5 separate regions of the Homo sapiens genome follow, and regions 1, 2, 3 and 5 are each linked to region 4. The links are contacts of gene promoters, found by promoter capture Hi-C in blood cells and fetal thymus (Javierre and others, 2016). All regions are on one chromosome and are shown on one strand. Each heading gives the region's core, a stretch centred on a gene start or on the middle of the fragment in contact. The rest is flanking DNA. Distances are from core to core; before and after follow the strand shown. Region 1 has its middle 11 kb from the start of MAP3K15. Region 2 overlaps PDHA1 (pyruvate dehydrogenase E1 subunit alpha 1). Region 3 overlaps SH3KBP1 (SH3 domain containing kinase binding protein 1). Region 4 holds the start of MAP7D2 (MAP7 domain containing 2). Region 5 overlaps MAP3K15 (mitogen-activated protein kinase kinase kinase 15).

Region 1 (5,143 bases), core at 1,629-4,128, 590 kb after region 4:
GGTCTCTGATAAGAAGGTCATTCTGTATTTATAGTTTTATAGCCTGCTTTTTATACTTAATATCATTTTTTGTCTTTTTTTTGTGAAAACAATTTGTAATGGCTGCATAGTATTCCATCTGTAAATATTCCAGAAAGCATTTGACCAATATCTTATCTAACATATATAGGGTGCTTATGGTGATGTGCCAGATGCCATGAGAGGCGCTGAATGCGACAGAGTCCCTGCCCTGAAGGAGCTCGGTGTCAAATGGGCAGAAGTAGGCAGGTAAACAGGCAAGTCTTCCTCAATACAAAACACAACCACATAGAAAAGCCCCCAGAGCTTTGGCGTGACAGAGGAGACACGCCCACTGGAGCCTTGAGGGGAGGGAAGGTCAGGGAAAGAAGCACATTTCTCACGAACTTAATTTTTTTCTTTTTAAAATAAAGTTGTCATGGACATCTTTACGCATCAATCTATGTCCACATTTCTTTTTTCTTTTTTCTTTTCTTTTTATTTATTTATTTATTTTTGAGATGGGGTCTCACTCTGTCACCCAGGCTGGAGTGCATGCAGTGGTGCCATCTCGGCTCACTGCAACCTCCATCCCCCGAGCTCAAGGGATCCTCTCTCCTCAGCGTCCTAAGTAGCTGAGACCACAGATGCACGCCACCACACCTGGCTACATTTGTGTGTGTGTGTGTGTGTGTGTATTTTTGGTAGAGACAGGGTTTCACCGTGTTGCCCAGGCTGCTCTTGAACTCCTGAGCTCAAGCAATCCACCCACCTTGGCCTCCCAAAGTGCTGGGATTACAGGCGTGGGCCACCATGCCTGGCCTATGTCCACATTTCTGACCTATCCTTAAGATAATTCCAAAATGTGGAACGTGAGTATAAGTTGCCTGATATTTTTAGCAAAAATCATTTTTGGCCAATTATAAACTTAGTTAATTATTAACATTAGCATATACAAGTGACTAACCACCCATCTTTCCTTAAAGTTGCATTTGCCTAAATCCTGATGGGGGTCAGGTCTGGATCTCTTTTTCCCTGATTGGTCACTGCTCCAATGTCACCTCATCAGAGAGGCCCTCCCTACCCCTCTAAATAAAAGAGCAACTTTAGCCTTGACCCACCCCCAGAGTCCCCATATCAACACCTCCTTCATTTGTTTTCCCTTGCTTGCTTTGTTTCTGTTTTCAATCTCCCCTCCCTTAGAATGAAACCACTCTGAGGATAGTGACTTTTCTGTCACTGCTCTATCCCCAGCACCTAAAACATTGACAGATATATATTAATAGTAATCACTTGATATGTAGTTGACTGAATAGATGAATTGGTAATTGTGACTGATGTCAAATGCAATTTATTCTATACATTTGAGCAGCCCGGTTTGACCTTTACTAAAACTTTAGTACAAAACTGGGGCAGTAGGGAAGCTCCACAGCAAAAGAAACAGATACAAAGAAAGCCTTCAGAGCACTTTACTTCTATATGAGTCTCAGCCAACACCCGGACCCTAAGGAGAGTGCTTCTTGCATTACGATGGTTCTCAAAACCAAGTTCATGTCATCTGAACACCATTTTCTCTAAGACGTCCAGTCACTACTTAGAAACCTGTGGCTACCTCTGTTTTAGAAAGTAAAGTTTTTTTTTTTTTTTTCCTATACTCATTCTGGAGGAAAAAAAAGAAATGAATTCTGGGCTGAAAATGGTGGCTCAAGCCTGTAATCACAGCAATTTGGGAGGCCGAGGCAGGTGGATCACTTGAGGCTAGGAGTTCGAGACCAGCCTGGCCAATGTGGTGAAACCCCATCTTTCCTAAAAATAGAAAAATTAGCTGGGCATGGTGGCACATGCCTGTAATCCCAGCTCTTTGAGAGGCTGAGGCGAGTGGATTGCTTGAGGACAGGAGTTTGAGACCAGCCTGGCCAACAAGTCCTGTCTCTACTAAAAAATACAAAAATTAGCCCAGCATGGTGGCACACACCTGTAATTCCAGCTACTCAGGAGGCTGAGGCATGAGAATCACCTGAACTTGGGAGGTGGATGTTGCAGTGAGCTGAGATCATGCCACCGCACTCCAGCCTGGGTGACTTGCAGGCTGCACTCCAGCCTGGGTGACGGCAAGACTCTGTCTCAAAAAAAAAAAGGGAATTCTTTGCTGACTCTTGATTCTTCTCTGAGGTCAGCTGAGAACCTAATTGCTCCCTCTCAGGGCAAACCATCTGCCCTCAAAGTGATGAGTAAGTGGGAAAGGTAGATAAGCGCTGAGCTTCTAGGAAGAGCCATAGAGCAGTGGTTCTTAGAATGTGATCCCCAAAAGAACAGCATTAGTATCACCACTGGGGAACCTGGTAGAAATGAAAATTCTTGCGCCCTGTCCCAGACTTCCTGAATCAGAAATTCTGGAAAGCAACCCAACAATCTGTGTTTTAACAAGTCCTCTCAGTAATTCTGATGCACGCATAAGTTTGAAGACCACCATCATGGGGGGATCAACTCATTCCCAGTGAGTTGTGTGTAGAGTAGCTGACAGCAATCTTTTCCAGAAATCTCTAGTTGTCCTTGGCTGAAGCAAAACAAGGTGCACTACTCAGAAATAATGCCGTAGTCTATTTGGTTGAAACATGTGAAACTAACATTTTTTTTAGATCAAATATGGTTGAATAGATAGGACTTCCAGTTTCAGCTCAGAGATATGGAAGAGCTGCATGAAATCCCTTCCTGTGCTAACAACAAGAAAAAGTCTGGACAGACTGGAAATTAATAGAGAACTAAGTTCAAAGAGCAAATGGCCATTTGAAAATCTGGGCCAGGTGTGGTGGCTCACACCTGTAATCCCAGCAGTTTGGGAGGCCGAGGCGGGAGGATTGCTTCAGCCCATGAGTTCAAGATCAGCCTAGGCAACATGTCAAGGCCCCGTCTCTACAAAAGGGACAAAAAATAGCCAGGTGTAGTGTCGCCTGCCTGTGGTCCCAGCTACTTGAGAGACTGATGCAGGAGGATCACTTGAGCCTTGAGGCTGCAGTGAGCCGTGATCACACCACTGCATTTCAGCCTGGGTGACAGAGCATGACCCTGTCTCAAAAAAAAAAAAAAAAAAAAAAAAAAAAAGAGGCTAGGCACTTCCTGCAAGACACAGGATCTGAGCATTTGGTTACCAAGGGCAGAAACCACCAGATGCCATAGAACTAGGTAGAAAGGTCAGGCTAGAAAATTTGACCAATTTCTGGAAGCCAACTGTGGGCTAGCTTGAGAGTGTGCAGCTCCTAAGAAAGACTGTCATCCTTCTGCAGGCTTTTCCTCCAGGAACCCCACCTGGTTCTCACAGGGAAGATCAGGGGAAATCCAGAGAAAACTCATGGTGCTGGCTCAGGAACCACTGAGAAATCTACTCAGACCCTTCTCCCTTAAGGAACAAAAGGCTATTCTGCATGGGGAAAGACATGGTCCGAGGGCCCTGGTGAATTACCATTGCAACTAGGGGAGGGAACTGCACTCAACTCTAGCTCTTCATCTCAACTAAAAACAATTCAACCTTCAGAGAAAAGGGCTTCAAGTCTATAGACTGAAAACACTTGTAGATACCCACTGCAGCTGGGAGAAGGGAATGGGAGGGAGCTCTGTCCCTGGAGGAGAAACAGAAACAACTGTGAAAGTTACACCCGAGACACAAGCCCACTGTGCACTCCAAAGACTGAAGTTTAGAATATTAGAGAATCCATCTCCCAACAGCATGCTAACAAGCCTCCAGGAATAACAATAGCAGGGAAGACTGCAAGAGACAGACGTTGGGGAGCAGCACAAAGGGAAGCCCCAAAGCCAAGAGAGGTGGGGGACAAAAAAAGATCACTAGAGGAATCTGAAGTTTGTAATGTTCATAGGAAAACAAATCTCAACACAGCCCAACTCCTGGCTGGATCAACATAAAGTCCCACACTAAAGGTTTATTATCTTAGTATCTGCTGCCCTATATACAATGTCCACCTTTCAACAAAAAATTACAAGGCATGCCAAAAGAAAAGAAAAAGCATTCTGAAGAGACAAGTGATCAGATTCAGACTTAGATATGGCATTGCTATTAAAGTATCAGAGAGAGAATTTTATTTTATTTTATTTATTTTAGATGAAGTCTTGCTGTGTCACCCAGGCTGGAGTGCAATGATGTGATCTCGGCTCACTGCAATCTCTGCCTCCCAGGTTCAAGCAATTCTCCTGCCTCAGCCACCCGAGTAGCTGGGACTAAAGGTGCATGCCATCATGCCTGGCTAATTTTTCGTTTGTATTTTTAGTACAGACAGGGTTTCACCATTTTGGCCAGGCTAGTCTCGAACTGCTGACTGCAGGTGATTTGCCTGCCTCAGCCTCTCAAAGTGCTGGGATTACAGGCAGGAATTTTAAATAATTATGATCACTATGGTTTTAGTTTTAGTTTTTTTTTTTTTTTTTTTGATATAGTCTCACTCTGTAGCCCATGCTGGAGTGCAGTGGTGTGATCACGGCTGACTGCAGCCTCAACCTCCTGGACTCAAGTGATCCTCCTGCCTCAGCCTCCCAAGTAGCTGGGACTACAGGCATGCATCACCACAGCCAGCTAATTTTTTGTATTTTTTTGTAGAGATGGGGTTTTCCCATGCTGCCCAGGCTGGTCTCGAACTCCTGAGCTCAAGCGATCTGCCTGCCTCAGCCTCCCAAAGTGCTGTGATTACAGGTGTGAGTCACCGTGACCAGCCCGATTACTATGTTAAAGTCTCTCACAACCTAAGTAGACATCATGCAAAATCGGATAGGTAATTTCAGCAGAGATGGGAACTATAAGAATCAAATGGCTAGAAATAAAAAACACAGCAACTGAAATGAAGACTATCATTGATGGGCTCATCAGTAGACTTGAATATTTACATTTACTTGGATAGATAGCAAAACTGAAAAAGATAAAAAGAGAGAAGGCAGCCATTAAAAGTATAGTAAATAAGAACAACTTTATGACATCTTGGGCATCTTTATGACATCAACATCTTAGAACAAATGGACCAATTCCTTGAAAACCACAAATTATCAAAACTTAACCAAGATAGAATGGACAATCTGAATAGTTATATAACCATTAGAAAAAATTGAACTTGTAATTAACACACCCTGAAAAAGAAATCTCCAA
Region 2 (3,212 bases), core at 713-3,212, 760 kb after region 4:
GGTTCTAAAGAAGTGTCACTTGTCCCACCCATTTGGGCTCCTGTATACTACATGGGTGGGGACAGCAGAGATGGTGTGTGTGGTGATAATTAGACTTTGAGACATCAGAGCGCCAAGCAGGAAATCCATGTGCCTTGCCTTTCTCCCTTAAGTCCCCCTAAAGAAGCACAGCCAGCAAAACCAATGTATCTTATGCCTATATCATCTGAAGTAACACTAAAAGGATTCTACCATTTTCAACAATAGATTTACACAAAGTGCATTTTTCCATATACTGTGCTCTCTACATGATTTTTCCTTAGAAGTCCACTCTACAAAGGCTTATTTATTCAACTGTGTCAAAACTGGGATTCCAGAATCACAGGCCAGAGCTACTAAGCAAAAAAGTAAAATTCATGCCTTCCTAGTGGAACCTAGCTTTTTTGATTGATGTATTTCAACGGATTGAACACCCAGTTACCCTTAGCTCTATACCAGACAGAGGAACATCTCCAAATTCTGATCCTCTTCAGGTAGAGTATGCCAGGTGTAGACTTGGGGTAATGCCTACAAAAGCTAAATGCCCCCAAGATACTACACTACCATCAGCCCTGTTTTATGTAACAATTTCCCTCTACAATTAAGGTATATAACACTCTTTCTTTAAAAATTGCTGCTTGTGCTCACACACACTATACACTGTAGGCATTTTCAGAAAGCTTTCTTATTAGGAGGCACTGCTTTCAGATAACTTGATGCCCAACACAACTGCGTACATGAAGTGAACTGGTATCTAGCTCCAAAAGCAAATACTGAAATGTGTTGCTTTTGCCATGTAACACCATTCAAAGCCCACCCCTATGGAAACCACACTGCCCATGAGCGTACCTGACTCCAGGGTCACTCATACTGTGTCCGTGGTAACGGTAAGTCTGCAGCTCCATCAGGATGGGCCCCTAAAACAGAACCGGTAGGCAGTTAGTTAGTTAGGAACGATGACTGGAAGAACAGGCCGGCAATCCACGGCCTCAAACGCAGGCCCTTTATTAAGCGTCCAGTGTAGTCTTATCAGATCTTCTGAGTTGTCACGAATTTCTTATTGGTTGACTGATCTGTTCTCATTTCTAGCAAGTATTGATTGCATATTTCATCTTTCTCATTTTTAATAAGGCAATCTGCCAACAGCTTGTTTTGAATCAAAAAGGCTTTGAAGGCCAGGCATGGTGGCTCATGCCTGTAATCCCAGCACTTTGGGAAGCTGAGGTGGGCAGAGCACTTGCGCCCAGGAGTTCGAGACTAGCCTGGACAACATGGCAAAACCCCATCTCTATCAAAAAATACAAAAATTAGCCAGGCATGGTGGCGTGCGCCTGTAGTCCCAGCTACTTGGGAGGATCACCTGATTCTGGAAGGTCAAGGGTGCAGTGAGCTGTGAGTGTGCCACTGCGCGAGACCCTGTGAAAAAAGAAAAAGGCTCTGAGCATGTTCTAGAGCCTCCTGCTATTGGCTAGACAGATTTCCATCTCATGCTCCTTTCTCATGGTGTGTTGTGGGGCTGGCAGCCACTCCTACTTCACAGACCTTGCTAGTGTGTAACAAAGTTGGCAGGCACCAACAACCTCTGCTACCCAAACCCCAAGGCTCTGCTGGGAGTCTGGACAGTTGGGCTCGCTCATTCTACACTAGCCCACTTCCAGGAGACGGCTCTGAACACTGGGGTGGAGAAACATTGAGGATCCTTGGTTGGTTTGGTGCAGCAGTTAAAATGGGCGAGTGGGGAGCTGGCTCCAAGACAGAGTAGCTGTGTACCTTTAACTGCTCTATGGCTCAGTTTCCTTGTCTGCAAAATGGGCAAAACAATAACACCTAACTCAGAATTGTGAAGGTTATCTGTTTGGGAAAGTCACACATTCTACAACTACATTCTACAACTCCCCTTGTCTCCAGCCAGGGCTGGCCCCCATGTATTCTTTTCAGGAATTGGGAGAGGTGGCGTCAATACCCATCACTCAGGGCCTGGCACTCCCAGCCTTAGGGTCCTGACATAGACTGCTCAGCCCATTGTACCCAAGCTGTAGTCTTGGTCCTGCTCTAGTTCATTCTACTCATTAGCTCTTATTTAATGTTACTACATTCCCACCCTCACTTCCCTGTCTCTCCACTTTGTGACATTTCCATCATTGCTGGCCACATCTGATTCACATCACTGCCTAAACGTACATGGTATGGCGCTGAAGTGCCAACTTCAGAAACCTTGTTTCTGGGCTGTAGAACACTGATTTAGGGAGAACACCCAAACCTCCTAAGCCTATACTAGTGCCAAAGGAAGTGAAACCTCTTTAGGCCAGTCTCCCTCTTACCATCTCCCTCACTGCCATACACTGAAAAGGGAAAGATCCTTAGGACTGAGCAAGACTAAGATTACGAGCTTCTACCATACTGTTTAATTTGTATAAGACACACATATTAAATGCCTATTGTATACATGACATTCTATGCTGGACACTGTGGGGATCCCCAATCTGTTCCTTCAAGGGACTCATGATTAATGGGGGGTGGGGAGGAGGGACAGAATTAACCTAAGGAAAAGGCAAATCAGTTGTCATGAAGACAGGCCAAAGCAGAGGAAGCACCAGAACGGACTTCCCCCAAATGAGAGAAACGTAGGCTTCCCAGCAGGTGAGCTACCAAGACCAAGCTACCCAAAGGAGCCCTGCTCCCTTCACTCTGCTTCCATCTCATGCACCTCAATTAGCAGGTACCCACTAACAGCTTCAGCAGGCACATGGGAGGCAGTCTTTGAACTTCCAGAGATAAATGTCACTAGCCCAGAGGGCTTTAGAGCCTTACCTTCCCAGATCTACAATAGGCAGCAGCAAACCTTGTTGCCTCTCGGACGCACAGGATATCCATTCCATCCACCTGGTAATAAACAGGGGAGGGGCGAAGCATGAATCCAACTGCCCCAAACCATTTTACTTTCACATGACCTGCTCCTGTATGAGAATGAAACTCTCCAATGTTTCTAAGATCGTCAAGGGTCTGCACAAGGACATACCCTTGGCCTTGGCCTTGGCCCCGGCCCCACCACAGGTGTCCTTACTCTCAGCCCAGGAATGAAATCGCCTCTCTTGTAGTAATCAGTGCTGGCTGCCGCTCTCTCAACAGACGTTCCCATTCCATAGCGATTATTCTCACAGATGAAAATACAAGGTAATTTCCACAAAGCTGCC
Region 3 (4,462 bases), core at 1,665-4,164, 550 kb after region 4:
AACAGATGTGCGATGGTTGGCAGGCCTTGTAAGAGCACTAGAGCTCTCAACATGAGCATTCTGCTCTCCTGCTGCTGTCCCTCTGTTTGGGTGCTGTTTTCCTCTGAATCTGCTGATAGAGTTGCATCTTTGCAACTGCTGACCTGCAGTCTCTGGTCTGATCTCATGCAGGCTTGGGGCTAGGATGTGTGACTGTGACTGTTAATGCCAAAAGTACTTCCCCTGTTTCCACAAGCTCGTTTACATCCTCAGCCCTTGAGAAGCCCAGTCAGGAAGCATAACCTGATAGCTTGGGCTGATGCAATAACAGAAACTCTGGCCTGCTGTAGCTTTTGTTCTGCTTAAAGTGCAGGCAGAGCAGAGCAGAGCAGTAATTGGCTGTGAATGAAAGGGGATTGTCAGAATGAGCCTAAGTTCCGGTTCTACCACCGCAGTTTCGTATTTGGGCCCTGTTTTAAGCCAGGGTGGCTGGTTGGTGAAGGTCATGTGCGACCTCAGGAGGCTGTCTTGTCACCTCCCTCATGTCAATAGGAAGGGAGGTATTCTCCCTCCTCCAGAATATACAGGATAATCTGTCTTGCTTGCTAAGAGCATTCACCTTTGACCTTTGCATTCTTTGGGTCTGGAGATGTCTATGATCGCTATCATGAAAATATGAATCACATGTTTTTCAGTCTGATGAGCTAGTGTGGAAATATTGGGGGTATTGATGGGGGGGCGGGTTCACCTATAGAAGCTTTTCATGCTGTGGAAACTAAGCACAGTTGCATATATTTGGGAGCCCAGAAATAGAGTACTGAGGTTTGGTTTTCTCTCTCTCTTTGCCACAGAGACATTAATCCTAGAAGGCTATATCTTCTCAAGTTAATGGTATTTTTGTTTTGAGATAGTCTTGCTCTGTCACCCAGGCTGGAGTGCAACAGTGCAATCATTGCTCACTGCAGCCTCTAACTCCTGGGCTCATGCAATCCTCCCACCTCAGCCCAGGAGAATCGCTTGAACCCGGGAGACAAAGGTTGCAGTGAGCCGAGATCACACCACTGTACTCCAGCCTGGGGAACAAGAGCAAAACTCCATCTTAAAAAAAAAAAAAAAGGTCTCCAAAACCTAGTAATCATTTTGTAATGTAAAACGTCCCCTTAGGGTGTTAAATGTGTGTATTGTTGTACACCATTTTAAAAAATCAAGGTCCACCTGGACTTTGATCTGTAGCTGATTACAACCCTGGTGAAACAATAATCCCAAAGCGTTAGAAAGGATTAAGAGTGTTTTGTAAGCATGTTTGGGGTAGAACATGCCTTTATAACTTTTAATCCTCGTTGAGGTACAGTGTGAGTACAGGAGCTGTGTGTGGAATATCCTTGTGTTAGAATCATTCTGCTAATATAGTGGAGAACAAACCCTCCCCCTTCATCTCCCCTCTTCCATCGTCCTGAGGTTCTAGTGTTGAAATAAGAGCAGTGAGAGCAAGCAAGAGTAAGGAAAGAAAGAACTAATATTCACTGGGTGCCCACTAAATGTTTTGTCTATTTTTTTCTCACCGTCCATAGCCCTATGAAGGATGTGTAATGACTCATGTTTTTACAGTGAAGGAACAGGGAAGAAAGCAAGCTGGGGAAACTGAGCAAGATTATCTGGCTAGTAAGAAATTGGAGTTGAAGGCCAGGCGCGGTGGCTTACACCTGTAATCCCAGCGCTTTGGGAGGCCAAGGCGGGCAGATCACCTGAGGTCAGGAGTTCGAGACCAGCCTGGCCAACATGGTGAAACCCTGTCTCTACTAAAAATACAGAAATTAGCTGGGTGTGGTGGTAGGCGCCTGTAATCCCAGCTACTTGGGAGGCTGAGGCAGGAGAATCGCTTGAACCCGGGAGGCGGAGGTTGCAGTGAGCCAAGATTGCACCACTGCACTCCAGCCTGGGGGACAAGAGCGAGACTTCGCCTCAAAAAAAAAAAAAAAAAAAAAAAAAAATTGGAGTTGAAGCCAGGTCTCTCTGACCCATGAGCCCAAACCTTCTAGGTCCACATCAGCATTTCTCAACTGCTCTCCCCAAGGGGACATTTGGCAATGTCTGGAGACATTTTTGACTGTCACATCATAGGGGTGGGGGTGGAGATGCTACTGGCATCTAGTGGATAGAGGCCAAGGATGCTGCTAACCATCCACCAGTGTGTAGGATAGCCCCCACAGACAACAAAGAATGACCCAGCCCCAAATGTCAATAGCACCGAGGCCCAGAGAGCCCAGTCTGTGTTAGGAACAGGAAGAGGACAGGCTTCCCCTGCAAGTGCAACTTGTGTTCCCTGGAGTGGCCTGTCTCATTTCCTGAGAATCTCTATAAAACCTAGTTTGAAAATATTTCATATACAAAAAAGTAATTATATTTGAAGTAATTAAACATCAACCAAGGACATGACTGTGACCTTTGTGAGAGAGAAAGAGGAAGGGGGGGGAGAGAGAGAGAGAGGCGAGAGAAGAGAGGGGAGAGGGGCCATCTTAAGGCTTGCAGCAAGTGAAATGATACCATTTGAGTCTGATTTCAAATAGAAAGAGTATTGGATTTGTGATTAGATATTTGCCAAAGATCAACTACCCAGTGTTTAAACGGGTATTACATAAAAGGACAATAACAAATTTGATCAATACTAAGTTCTAAATCTGTACTCTGTATGGTAAAGTTATACAGGAGAGCAAGAGAGAGCAATTGTAATAGCGACCATTAACACAACATTTTTGTGAATGTGACACCAAATGTCTACAAACAAGTGATTACATTCTTACCTTATTTTGCAATTTCTACCTTTCATGATAATAAATCACTTCTAAGGGTTTCTCATACAAATTTTGAGGAAAAATTCAGATCTCCTGACTTGGGGCTATTGGTTTTTCTGTCCTGTTTTTAAAATACATATTTTAAACTTCCCCTTTTGGAGCCAGAGAGCCAGTTATTGGTCCTTGCAGCATGTCAGATCATTGAGCAATTGCTCAGGTTCAATAAAACAAGATATACTGTGTCCTGCCTGCCATTAAAAAAAAACAAAAACCCATGAATGACACTTGGAGTGTTCCAGATTGACTACTGGCTGAGCGTGTGTGTGAACAACAGCCGCGCCTTCCAGCTCTCTCGGGATTAGTTGCTCAGACATGAGAACTTTCACTGAAGAGCCACGGCTGGCTCCTACAGACACTGTCTCCTTACTGGCAACCTTCAGACACAGCCTTTGGGACCAAGGACATGGTTGATGTTACCTGTGCTGAAGAACAGGAGATACGGTTGCTACTGGTCTACAGTCAAGTCTGCATATGACGGGCTGCGGTGCCCATGTGTGGACGTGTGCAGCTCCGGTCCCTATCTAGGGACACAAATCGTGATCAAACTTAAATTTTTGTCAGGAGTAGCTGAAAAGCACTATACATTTCTCAAGTGTGATGACAGAAAGCAAAAGAGATTGTGCTGAGGGTCAAACGCTTTATACAAAGGAAGTGAAACAGGTTGCGCTTCTGATTGATGGGTTTTTAACCCAGGCAATCCTCTGAGCATTTTGGGTTCCTTCCTCGAACTTACAGAGGCGTAGCTAATTCAGAACAGCTTCTGTGGATGGCCTTCTCCCTGCATCGCCCTTGAGCCCTCCCCTGGTTCCCAGCCTCTCAGGCTCACAGTGGAGGTGTGCTGCTGAGGAAACAAGGTCAAGTTGGCAACCAGCACTCATTTCGAAAGGCATCCTCCAGTCCTACAGGAGATGGTCCTTCAGGGCCCTTTGAAGGGCCTGATCTTGGGTGTAAAATGAGCATCTCCACTTAGACTTTCTCAGTCAAAGATGTTGATCCTCACCAGAACCGAGGTGCTCACCTCTGCCTGTGCACCTTGCACAGGGCGGTCCTGCTGGCCTTTGGTGGTCCATCACGGTGGCTGGGTTTGTGCTTAGTTATGAGGGTCTTCACGAACATCTTTTACCCCATAACATCCCATAAGCGCAAACTCAGTAAACATTGAAAGTGCCTGTAGGAAAAGCCTCACAAATGCTATAGAAACAGGGGGAGATTACGTCAAAGTGGGGACATGATGGCAAATGTTGCAGAACCTCACTGCAGCAGTGCATTTGGTGGTATGAATTATTCCAATATACAGAGAGCAAATTAGTACTGTCCTACCCAAGTGCTCTATACCCACCAGCCTGCAAAATAGCTGACCTGAGAGAGGTGGAGGGACATTTAGGGAGCATCAATTCAGATGGCTGTTGGCTTGGAGAGGGTCACAGAGGCTAGTAGCTGTGTGGACTTGCAGGCAGCCCCAAATGCTCACCTATGTGCAGAGTCAGCATGTCCTGCCTCCCCTGGTAATGTGGTCGCCTGCATCTCTGTGGCCAGCGCTCTCGTTCATCATTCAGTCTGATGGCTTGAGTGCCTCTATGTTTGCTACATGCTGAGACCGTATTCTAGTGCCGTATTCTGGAGGTACTGGG
Region 4 (4,821 bases), core at 2,225-4,724:
TATTGGTCAGGCTGGTCTCAACTCCCGACCACAGGTGATCTGGCCGCCTCAGCCTCTCAAAGTGCTGGGACTACAGGGGTGAGCCACTGCGCCCGGCCATGCTATAGATTTTTATAGGAAGTTAGTGTAGTGGGAAAAGCACGGAAAACTCGAAAGTCATTTTTTTTAAAAGCTTAAATAGAAATTACACTATTGGATATTCTGTCATAATGTCGAAAATGTCAATTTTCTCCAAATTAACCTCTGACTTCAATATAATTACATTTAGTATTACAGCAGGCCTTGGTGGGAGATTGCAAAAACATCCTAAAATATATTCATGTGGAAATACTGAATTTCAAAGAATTCTAGAAACACTGCTAAGAGGGAATTCAACAAATAAATTGCACCCTAAGCCATAGTAGTGAATAATAGATGCAGTAACAGGAAGATCAGAATAGATAGCTCAGAAGCTATCTCACCTACTATGGAAATTAGGTACTTGATTTTTTAAAAAGTGGCTTCAAAAATTACTGGGGAAAGGATAGGTAAGCAGGTAGTGCTGACCAAACTACACTTCGGAGAGAAAAGTGGATTTGGCTCTTTACCTCACCCTATACAGAAAAATTGCTTAAGAGTAAAGCATTTTTTACTTTTTTTTTTTTTTTTTTTTTTTTTTACGTTTTTTACTATAAGCATGAGGGCAATGGGGAGTATCTTGGGACTAGGGAAGTTCGTATTAAGACTTCTTAAAATGCAAACCATAAGGTGAAAAATTTATGGATTTTATCACTTCGTAATCATTATGAGATCAGATCAAGCAAGAACCATCAATGGATGCTAAATCTAGAGAGAATTTTTGACGAAGAGTAAGTACCTGCATAGCCTTAAGGTGCCTCACCACAGTGCATTTTGCAAGAGGAAAACTACCTCTAAGGTGGAGGAACAGCCAATGGAGAGAAAATTACTGTATCCATGTGAAACTTAAGTTGGTAGTCAACTCTAGTATGTGTAACAGAACATTCATAATCTTAGGAAATACACATGGAAGTATTTGTAATGTAACTTTCAAAAACAGTTGATAAAAAATAGGGCAATATTGTAAATGGAGTAAACATGTTAATAGGATTTTGTCATAAAAATTAAGGAAAATTTTACCAATCTTAAAAAGCTTAGTTGGCTAGGATAAAATATTTGCAACATTTAAACCAGAAATTATCTAGAATACAAGAAACTCCTGGAAATCAACCAGAGTAGCCCAGTGGAAAGGTGGGCAAGGATTGAACAGGGAATTTACAGAAGGGTAAACCAGATAGAATGGCTAATCATTTTGTGTAGATTGAGAACAATGCCAAGAGAGGAAAAACAAATAGAATGATAGCTTTTATGCAGTGTCATTTATATACAATTAAAATACATGCGTATCTTCAAAACAGTATTTCAAAATTGCAGCTGCAAAGATATCAGAGGAGGTGTTTATAATTAGGGAGAGGAATGGAAAGTAAAAGGACCCCAAAAATAGAATAAAAGTAGAGAGGGATGCTACACACACATGTCCATGAGCTCAAGAGTTGGATGAATTGAACTCACCAAAGGTCCCTAAGATAAGGGAGGAGAAAGTGACAGCTCCCACGCTCTTAATTTGGCTTAATCTCAATGTGTTCGAGTTTTCATTACAGCTCAGGGTACCAGCCCCCACCTGCTCACTTTCCTACTCATTTATGTTTAAACTTCCTGGCTTTCTCACCACACTTGAACCCTACTCCCGGCACACCTTTGGGCGTGTCAGGAACACGTTCATCACAAACATTTTTTGTGCCACAAAGGGACTTTCCCAGCTTTGGCCAAGAGTACAGGTGCCCATTCCTGAGAGTTTCAGCTTCACATTAAAAAAAAAAAAATGAGACATAATTAAGGGACCATAAAATTCACCCGCTTAAAATGTACAATTCAATAGTTTTTAGTATACTTAGTTGTGCACTCATCATAATCCTAGAATATTTTCATCCAAAAAAGAAAACCTGTACCCATTATTCAGCTTCATTTTTAATCGTGTATATCTCCCCCCAGGAGTGGTAATAAAACTTTCAGGCTGGTCACCTTCCAACGAGAAAAAACATGCAGCCTGGGGCTCCATGGGAACGGGTTATCACTTGGCAGGCCTGGGTAAACAAAAGGCTTGAGCCGGCCCTGCCAAGATGTCTTTTTCAATGTTTTTGAAAAGATAATAAATGTGCATGGCAGTGGTAAAAGTGCCTACTTAGGAGGCAACCCGTTTAGCAGTTTCTTGTGTGTCTTCTCGGAGAGATCCTCCTCAGAGGTTTTTTGTTTTATTTTGCTTTTGAGACAAGGTCTCTGTCGCCCAGGCTGGAGTGCAGTGGCGTGATCACTGCAGTCTCGACCTCCCGGGCTCAAGCGATCTTCCCGCCTCAGCCTCCCAAGTAGCTGGGACCACAGATGAGTCGCCATGCCCAGCTAATTTTTAAAATTTTTTTGTAGAGACGGGGGTCTCGAACTCCTTAGCTCAATCAATCCGCCCGCGTCAGCCTCCCGAAGTGTTGGGATTACAGGCGGGAGCCACCACACCCGGCATCGCGGAGGTTTCAGTCAGCATTATTTACGCCTCAGGAGAAGAGGAACCAAATTGGCTGCGGAGTAGGGTGTCGTTGAAAGGCCTAGGTCGGCCTACGGCGCGTGCCGCTGCCTCTTAGTTGAAGATCGACCCCAATAGCTTGCTGCTGTCCCTCTCTGGGTGACCGCACGCTGAGGGTGGGGCGTCACTAAACACTGATTACCCGTGCGCCTCGAAAACTGGAACCTAACTATGCATGGAGGGCGGGTCCTCTGGCGTCTGCACAGATGTCACTGGCCCAACTGGCACCCACCTGGGGGCCTAGCCAGAAATTGTTCCCAAGGCTGCATTGCTGAGTTTGCATGCAGACACCCAGTGAGTGTAAGCGTGTGCGTGCTGAGTGAGCACGTGTGTGCGCGTTATGTGCTCTGTGTTCACACATTGAGTGAGGATGTGTGTGCACGGTGTCTGAGAAACTGCACCCTACATCTACACACGCTTTGAGTGTGTATCTGCTACTGTGAGAAGATGCATTTACGCTGGGTGTGCACGTTGTGTGTGCATGTTGCATGTAAGCATCGTATGAAGAACTGTGTGCGTACGCACGCCTTCTGTGTGTGCACTGTGTACAGCAGCGTGTAAGGACGCGTGCACGCCCGTACGCGCTGTGTGAGGACTGTTGTGCACATTGCATGCACACGCTACAAGCGCGCGCCGCGTGAGAACCGGTGCGCCTATCGCACGTGCACGCCCTGCGTGCGCTGTGCGTGGAAGCGGTGCGCCTATCGCACGTGCACGCCTTGCGTGCGCTGTGCGTGGTAACCGGTGCGCTTATCGCACGTGCACGCCCTGCGCGCGTGCTGCGTGAGGACGCGTGCGCATGCGGACGCGCGCGGGTTCGGTGCGGCGCGGCGGGCTTGGCAGTGCGCCTGTGCGGCCGGCGCATCCCGATGGAGCGCGGCGGCGGCGGCTCCGGGACGGGATCCCGGCCTGAGGGGACTGCGCGGGGAACCTCTCTCCCAGGGAAGATCGCAGAACCGGGCGCGGTGCGGACCTCTCAGCCCAACTACCGGCCTCAAGGTATTATCCCCAGAGTGTGGCGGGCGCCCGAGGGCTTCGGGTTCCTGTGGGGGGGCGGGCCCGGCGGCCCAGGGCAAAGGTCCTCGAGCGTGGGGGGAAGGGGCACGGCGCAGAGCTGAGATAAACGCCCTTTCCCTGGCCCAGGATCGTCCGGACGTGCATCCAAGGGCCGCACCCCTCTCTGTGCGAGTGGCGGGGTTCTTTCTTGGGGCGACCTGGGTGAGTGGGTACACATGGGGGGTGGCTTAGGGTGGGCGGCAGGTGTGTTTGGGATGGAGGTGCCTGAGGGGGTGCTGCGGGTCCAGTCCCCGTCCTCGAGGAGCAGCCGGCATGGGGGTCGTTAGGATAAACCGAGCGGGGTTCTGGGGTTGCCCCGGCCTCCGCGCGCGCTCTCTCTGCGTTCTGGGAAACGCGCGCGAGCGCCGCTGCAGCCCGCGGCGAAGGTGGCCCAGCTTCGCGCCTCTTGGCGTTTCCAGGGGGCAAAATCGGCGTGTCACCCATTGGCAGAGGCAGATTCGCCCGGGCGGCCAGGCGTCTGCCCCGGACCGGGTGCTCCTCCCGCCCGGATGCGCTCCCTGTCTTGGGAACGCTGCTCAGGTGGCCGGGCCGCGGCCCTCAATCGAGGCAGCGGGGCAAACAAGGCTCTCAGCCCTCGAGGCTGCCGATGCTGGGAGCCATGGAGGGCTGGTCCCTGGCTGCCCAGAAGCCAGCGAGGCAGCGGAGGAGACTGTGAGGACATTTGGCAGGATTTTAGATAAGCAGGTCTGATGCTAACGTTCTGTAAAGTGGTTGCAGGTAGTGCGGGGGTGTAAGCAGCATGGAAACCGATTTCATGCTGTTTTTCCTGACAACAACTTTTTTATTTTTAGTTAATAAGGCAGGCTATTTTTAAAACATTTTTTATTGCAGTCTAATATGCATTTAAAAAACCACACAAAACTATAATTCGATGAATTATCACATAGTGAAGATGGGAGTATTTTATATACGATGGGCCAAGAAAAGGAAAGAAATCAAGAGAAATCTTCTTAAAACACGCTTTTTCACTGGGGTTGAGGGGGCGAGGTAGTATTTTCTGACTGGGCCTTCAGTTGCATCATTCTTAGGAGGAGGAGATAGCTTAAATCATTTCCAGTTTGTATTTTTCATTATGCTATTTTAAAGGCAGAATTCATTAACTGTCACAGGAT
Region 5 (5,042 bases), core at 271-2,770, 730 kb after region 4:
TGAGTCCTGTTTTTGCAGTTCCTCCATGCAGTGGTGTGTATGGGTACTTCGTTGTTGTTCATGGCTGAATGGCATTCCATTGTGTGGAGAACCACATTTTGTTCATCCGTTTACCAGTTAACAGTCATTTGGGATTGTTTCTACTTTTTGGCCACTGCGAATAATGATGCTGTGAACATTCACATACAAAGCGTGTGTGAACATGTGTTTTCAGCCTTCTTGGGTAGATACCTAGAGGGAGAACTCGGGACAGGAAGTCTGTTCTCGTCTGGCTGCAAACATCGTTGGTTCAAATCCTGGCCCAACCACTTGCTAGCTGTGTGACCTTGGGCATATTACTTAACCTCCATGTGCCTCAGTTTCTTCGTAAGTAAAATAGAAATGCTCGTTGTACCTACTCATAGGGTTTTTATGAGGGTAAAGTGAGTTACTGATGAAGTGCTTTGACTGGTCCCTGGCACATAGCAAGTGCAATTGAAGTGTTTGCTAATTAAATACTCGCTTGTACTTAGAAGTCATGGGTTATTAGAGCTGGAAGGAGCCTTTGAGAGAACTGAGTTTGTGTGTGTAACTAACGTGTTGAACCCATTGGACTCAAAGGGTGTAATCACAAAAGCCACTGGATTTTTCTCTCCCACTTTTCATCCTGCCTGGGGCGGGAGTTCTTTCCTTTGACTTTTCCAGCCACCCTTACATAACAGAGAAAGTCATAATGACACTTGAAGGAGCGCACACAGTCTGAATTCAGGAATTAAAAAGGACTCATCGCTTGAAGCCGGGAGGCGGAGGTTGCATGAGCCGATTGTGCCACTGCACTCCAGCCTGGGTGACAGAGCAAGACCCTGTCTCAAAAAAAAAGATTCAGGCTGATACTGATCAACGCTCTGGTCCTCATTCAAAAGTCAGACCCCTCTCCCGTCTCCCTGCAGGCAGCGACCTGTGGTCAGGAGCTGGGTGTTGTCTTTTTCTCCCTAATCACCAGCTGCAGGAAGGAGAGGACAGGGGCAGGGAAAGTTGTTACTTGACTAGCACTGTTGGAAGCTGGCTTTGCGTGCTGTGGGCCTGGCTGATGTTTAGTTATCTTCCCTCGCTGGCTCCCTCTGGATGTAACTCCTGTGTCGTGGGCAGGGGCCTGTCCTTTGGCTGACAGCCCCCTCCTCCCAGTTATTTACCCCTTACATCACCTCCTCCTTCCATCTCTTTCTGTTGAGGGATTCAGATCGTGGAGGACTGCGTTTGAGCAGGAATTCCTTTTCTTTTTTCTTTATTTTTTTATTGGGCAGCCCCTGGAACCAGAATAGGTTCTGAGAGAGACTCCCAGGATTCCTTTTAAGAAGACCATATGCTGGGCACGCCTGTAATCCCAGCTCTCTGGGAGGCTGAGGTGGGAGGATCGCTTGAGCCCAGGAGTTTGAGACCAGCCTGGCCAACATAGTGAGGCCCCGTCTTTACCAAAAATATAAAAATCAGCTGGGTGTGGTGGTGCGCACTTGTAGTCTCAGCTACTCGGGAGGCTGAGGTGAGAGAATCACTTGAGCCCAGGAGAATGAGGCTGCAGTGAGTCATAATTGTGCCACTGCACTCCAGCCTGGGCGACAGAATGAGACCCTGTCAATCAGTCAATCAATCAAATAAATAATACAAATAAAAGATAAACCCTAAGGCAGTATTTCTGTAATAGGGTCCCCCATCTGGTGTCCAGAGTTCAAGCAGCTTCAGCCCACTGTTGAGAGGGTGTGGCAGTATCCCCACACCTTACAGCCCCCTGTCTGCTGCTGGAAGTTAACCTTTGCTCACTTGGGTGCCAGTCCACTGTGTAATTTACCTACAGGAACACATACACATGGAGCTGAGTCGCTCAGTGAAGCCCCCTTCAAAGGCTTTGGGTTAGGAACAAGTGGCGCCACCTTTCCACCAGGCTTATCCCTTGGTCAGGTCAACTAGGGTAGTCCCCTGGACTATGGGAAAATCGTACCTTACTTTTCTTTTCTGTACTTGATTAATATGAAATCTTGAAATTTAGGCTCTAACGGTATCTCCAAGGGCCTGTGGAAGATGTGATGATCATAAGTTGGTATTGAGTGGCTTGAGTTGCCCTGGGCCCACGCCCTTTTGGGGACAGTCCTGCCCCAAATCCTGTAACTTGGGAGAGGGTAGGCAGCCCAGCATAGCTCTCTCTAAAGAAGCTGTCTCAGCACCACCCCCCTAAACTACTCTGTCAACTCTCTCAGCCCCTTGATCAGATTAGAAGGTCCCTGGGCCTCGGTTATAAACTTGTGTCTTCTGCTGTGTGTCTTCTTTGCTGGTAATCTGAAAATCCTATTGGACAATTCTCCAGGAGTCCCCAGTGGATTTTGTGCCCTAGGGGGGCTGAGTCAGTGCCTGTGGGTCTCTTGGTCACCTTGTTCTGAACTCTGCACCACTGCACTGGTGTAGGTACCTAAGAGCCGTAGTGGGCTGTGACCAGTGACCAGTGTGGTAGGGCATACCTTGGAGGAAATATAGGTTAGGGAGCATATGGGGCCCCAAGAGAGCCAGATTTTTGTTTGTTTGTTTGTTTTGTTGAAATGGAGTCTTACTCTGTCGCCCAGGCTGGAGTGCAGTGGCGCGTTCATGGCTCAGTACAACCTCCACCACCCGGGTTCAAACGATTCTCCTGCCTCAGCCTCCCAAGTAGCTGGGACCACAGGCACACGCCACCATGCCCGGCTAATTTTTGTATTTTTAGTAGAGACGGGGTTTCACCATGTTGGCCAGGCTGGTCTTGAACTCCTGACCTCAAGCCATCCACCTGCTTCGGCCTCCCAAAGTGCTGAGATTCAGGTGTGAGCCACCGTGCCTGGCCTATGAGAGCCAGATTGAAGGAAACCCAATTTTCCAGGATTTGTGCGTGATTCAGATGCCCCACAATGCCATCTTCACTTGGTTTTCTTGACAGAATCCAGCCTTTGGGTTAGCTGATGTACACACCCAACATGCATCCTGCCAGGGAGTGTTCCCTTGAGTATCTGAAATAGTTGTGTGCATTTATCTCTCTCTGTTAGCTGTTCTGAGAGTGGATGGTTACCTTGTGAATACAGTAGTGAATAAAATGGAGCACCCAGTTTTCCATTAGTGCCCTGTACCTTCCAGTTACATGGAAAGATGCTCCAATATGGCTTTGGAAATCCTTACACGTGCTACTCTTATTCAGGCAGCTTTTTTTTTCCAGCAGCGCTTCTTCTTGATGTAGTGTATGGATGAGTGATGTCATGGTGTGTAGTTCTGAACTTGAAGGTAGAAGATATGGGTTCTAGCCTAAGCGAATCCTTTAGCCTCTCTGAACCTCAGTTGCCTCCTGTGTAAAGTAGGAATAATGGTAGATAGTGCTTCCTCTGCCTAACCTTCCAGAGTCGTTTGAGTCAGATGGACAAGGCTATGTGGAGACAATTGGTAAGCCATCAAGTGCTCACCAGGAGTCAGATTTGTGGCAGGCAGCCTCCAAAATGACCCCCAATGATCCCTACCTCCTGATAGTCACACCCTTGCGTAGTTCCCTCCCGTTGAATGTGGACTGGACTTAGCAACTTGCTTCTGATGAATAGGAAGAAGTGGGAGTGATGGTGTGTGACCTGGACACTAGGTCATAAAAGGCAGTGTGCCATTCCTCTTTCTCTCGGATCAGTCTCTCTGAGGGAAGCCATGTCTCAAACCAGTCCTATGGAGGATCCCATGTAATGAAAAACTGAAGCCCCCCACTAGCTCTATCCTTAGTGAGCTTGGAAACTGATCCTCCAGCCCCAGTCCAGCCTTCAGATGACTGTAGCCCCAGCTGACATCTGGACTGCAACTTCCTGGGAGACCCTGAGCCAGGTCCACCCAGCTAGTTAGTTGCTGCTGGATTTCAACCCTTAGAAACGCTGTAAGACCTAACTATTTGTTGTTTGAGTTGATAGATTTGGGGGATCATTTCTTAAACAGCAGTAAATAACTAATATGAATGTCATTATTAAATCCTTGCCTTTAGAAAGAGTGCTGTTCACCATGGCTCCATATTTTTAAAAATCTGCAAATTTATTTTTAACTTTTGTGGGTATATAGCAGGTATATATATTTATGGGGTATATAGACTATTTTGATACAGGCACACAATGTGTAATAATCACATCAGGGTAAATAAGGTATTTATTACCTCAGGCATTTATCCTTTGTGTTACAAACAATCCAGTTATGCTCTTTTCAGTTTTTTAAAATGTACAGTTTTTTTTTTTTTTTTTTTTTTTTTTTTTTTCCCCTGAGACAAGGTCTCACTCCCATCTGCCCAGGCTGGAGGGCAGTGGCGTGATCTCAGTTCACTGCAGCCCCAACTTCATGGGCTCAGGTGATCCTCCCACCTCAGCCTTCCAAGTAGCTGAGACTACATGTGCACACCACCAACCCTGACTAATTTTTTGTACTTTTTTAGTAGAGATGGGGTTTCGCTGTGTTGCCCAGGCTGGTCTCAAACTCCTGGGCTCAAGTGATCCACCCACCTCGGCCTCCCAAAGTGCTGGGATTGCAGGCATGAGCCACCATGCCCAGCCAAAATGTATTGACTATGGTCACCCTGTTGTGCTATCAAATACTAGATCTTATTCATTCTTTCTATTTTTTTTTGTACCCACTAACCATCCCCACCTTCCCCCAGTCCCCACTGCCCTTCCCAGCCTCTGGTAACCATCCTTCTACTCTCCATGTCCCTGAGTTCAATTGTTTTGATTTTTAGCTCTCACAAATAAGTGAGAGCATGCAATGTTTCTCTTTCTATGCCTGACTTATTTCGCTTTATATAATGATCTCCAGTTCCATCCATGTTGTTGCAGATGACAGGATCTCATTCTTTTAATGGCTGAATGGTACTCCATTGTGTATATGTACCACATTTTCTTTATCCATTCATCTGTTGATGGACACTTAGGTTGCCTCCAAATCTTGGCTATTGTGAACTGTGCTTCAACAAACATGCGGGTGCAGATATCTCTTTGATATACTGATTTCCTTTCTTTTGGGTATATACCTAGGAA

What was found. The method cuts DNA at HindIII sites, captures the fragments that hold promoters and counts their contacts. A CHiCAGO score of 5 or more calls a contact.
Region 1: a contact is called between a fragment that was not itself captured here and the fragment with the promoter of MAP7D2 in region 4, in 1 of 17 cell types (non-activated CD4 T cells). The highest score is 5.2, in non-activated CD4 T cells.
Region 2: a contact is called between a fragment that was not itself captured here and the fragment with the promoter of MAP7D2 in region 4, in 5 of 17 cell types (total CD4 T cells, naive CD8 T cells, neutrophils and 2 more). The highest score is 7.7, in total CD4 T cells.
Region 3: a contact is called between a fragment that was not itself captured here and the fragment with the promoter of MAP7D2 in region 4, in 6 of 17 cell types (endothelial precursors, naive CD4 T cells, non-activated CD4 T cells and 3 more). The highest score is 6.4, in endothelial precursors.
Region 5: a fragment that was not itself captured here is called in contact with the fragment with the promoter of MAP7D2 in region 4 in 1 of 17 cell types (neutrophils); the score reaches 5.9 in neutrophils.

What each region holds. Positions count from the first base shown.
Region 1 is chrX:19,524,324-19,529,466 of GRCh38, reverse strand. No RefSeq gene overlaps it. Among named protein-coding and RNA genes, the nearest start is that of MAP3K15, 11 kb to the right of the region's middle. The HindIII fragment of the contact is 7,748 bases long and covers 1-5,143 here.
Region 2 is chrX:19,355,375-19,358,586 of GRCh38, reverse strand. PDHA1 (pyruvate dehydrogenase E1 subunit alpha 1) reads right to left here. Exons shown (of 11, transcript NM_000284.4): 7 at 3,083-3,212; 8 at 2,830-2,901; 9 at 868-935. Among named protein-coding and RNA genes, the nearest start is that of PDHA1, 13 kb to the right of the region's middle. The HindIII fragment of the contact is 2,524 bases long and covers 701-3,212 here.
Region 3 is chrX:19,562,560-19,567,021 of GRCh38, reverse strand. The region is part of intron 13 of SH3KBP1 (SH3 domain containing kinase binding protein 1); the gene reads left to right. Among named protein-coding and RNA genes, the nearest start is that of MAP3K15, 49 kb to the right of the region's middle. The HindIII fragment of the contact is 4,351 bases long and covers 739-4,462 here.
Region 4 is chrX:20,115,560-20,120,380 of GRCh38, reverse strand. MAP7D2 (MAP7 domain containing 2) reads left to right here and starts at 3,474. Exons shown (of 17, transcript NM_001168465.2): 1 at 3,474-3,631. The coding sequence starts at 3,502. The HindIII fragment of the contact is 4,441 bases long and covers 1,153-4,821 here.
Region 5 is chrX:19,383,978-19,389,019 of GRCh38, reverse strand. The region is part of intron 18 of MAP3K15 (mitogen-activated protein kinase kinase kinase 15); the gene reads left to right. Among named protein-coding and RNA genes, the nearest start is that of PDHA1, 43 kb to the right of the region's middle. The HindIII fragment of the contact is 8,970 bases long and covers 1-5,042 here.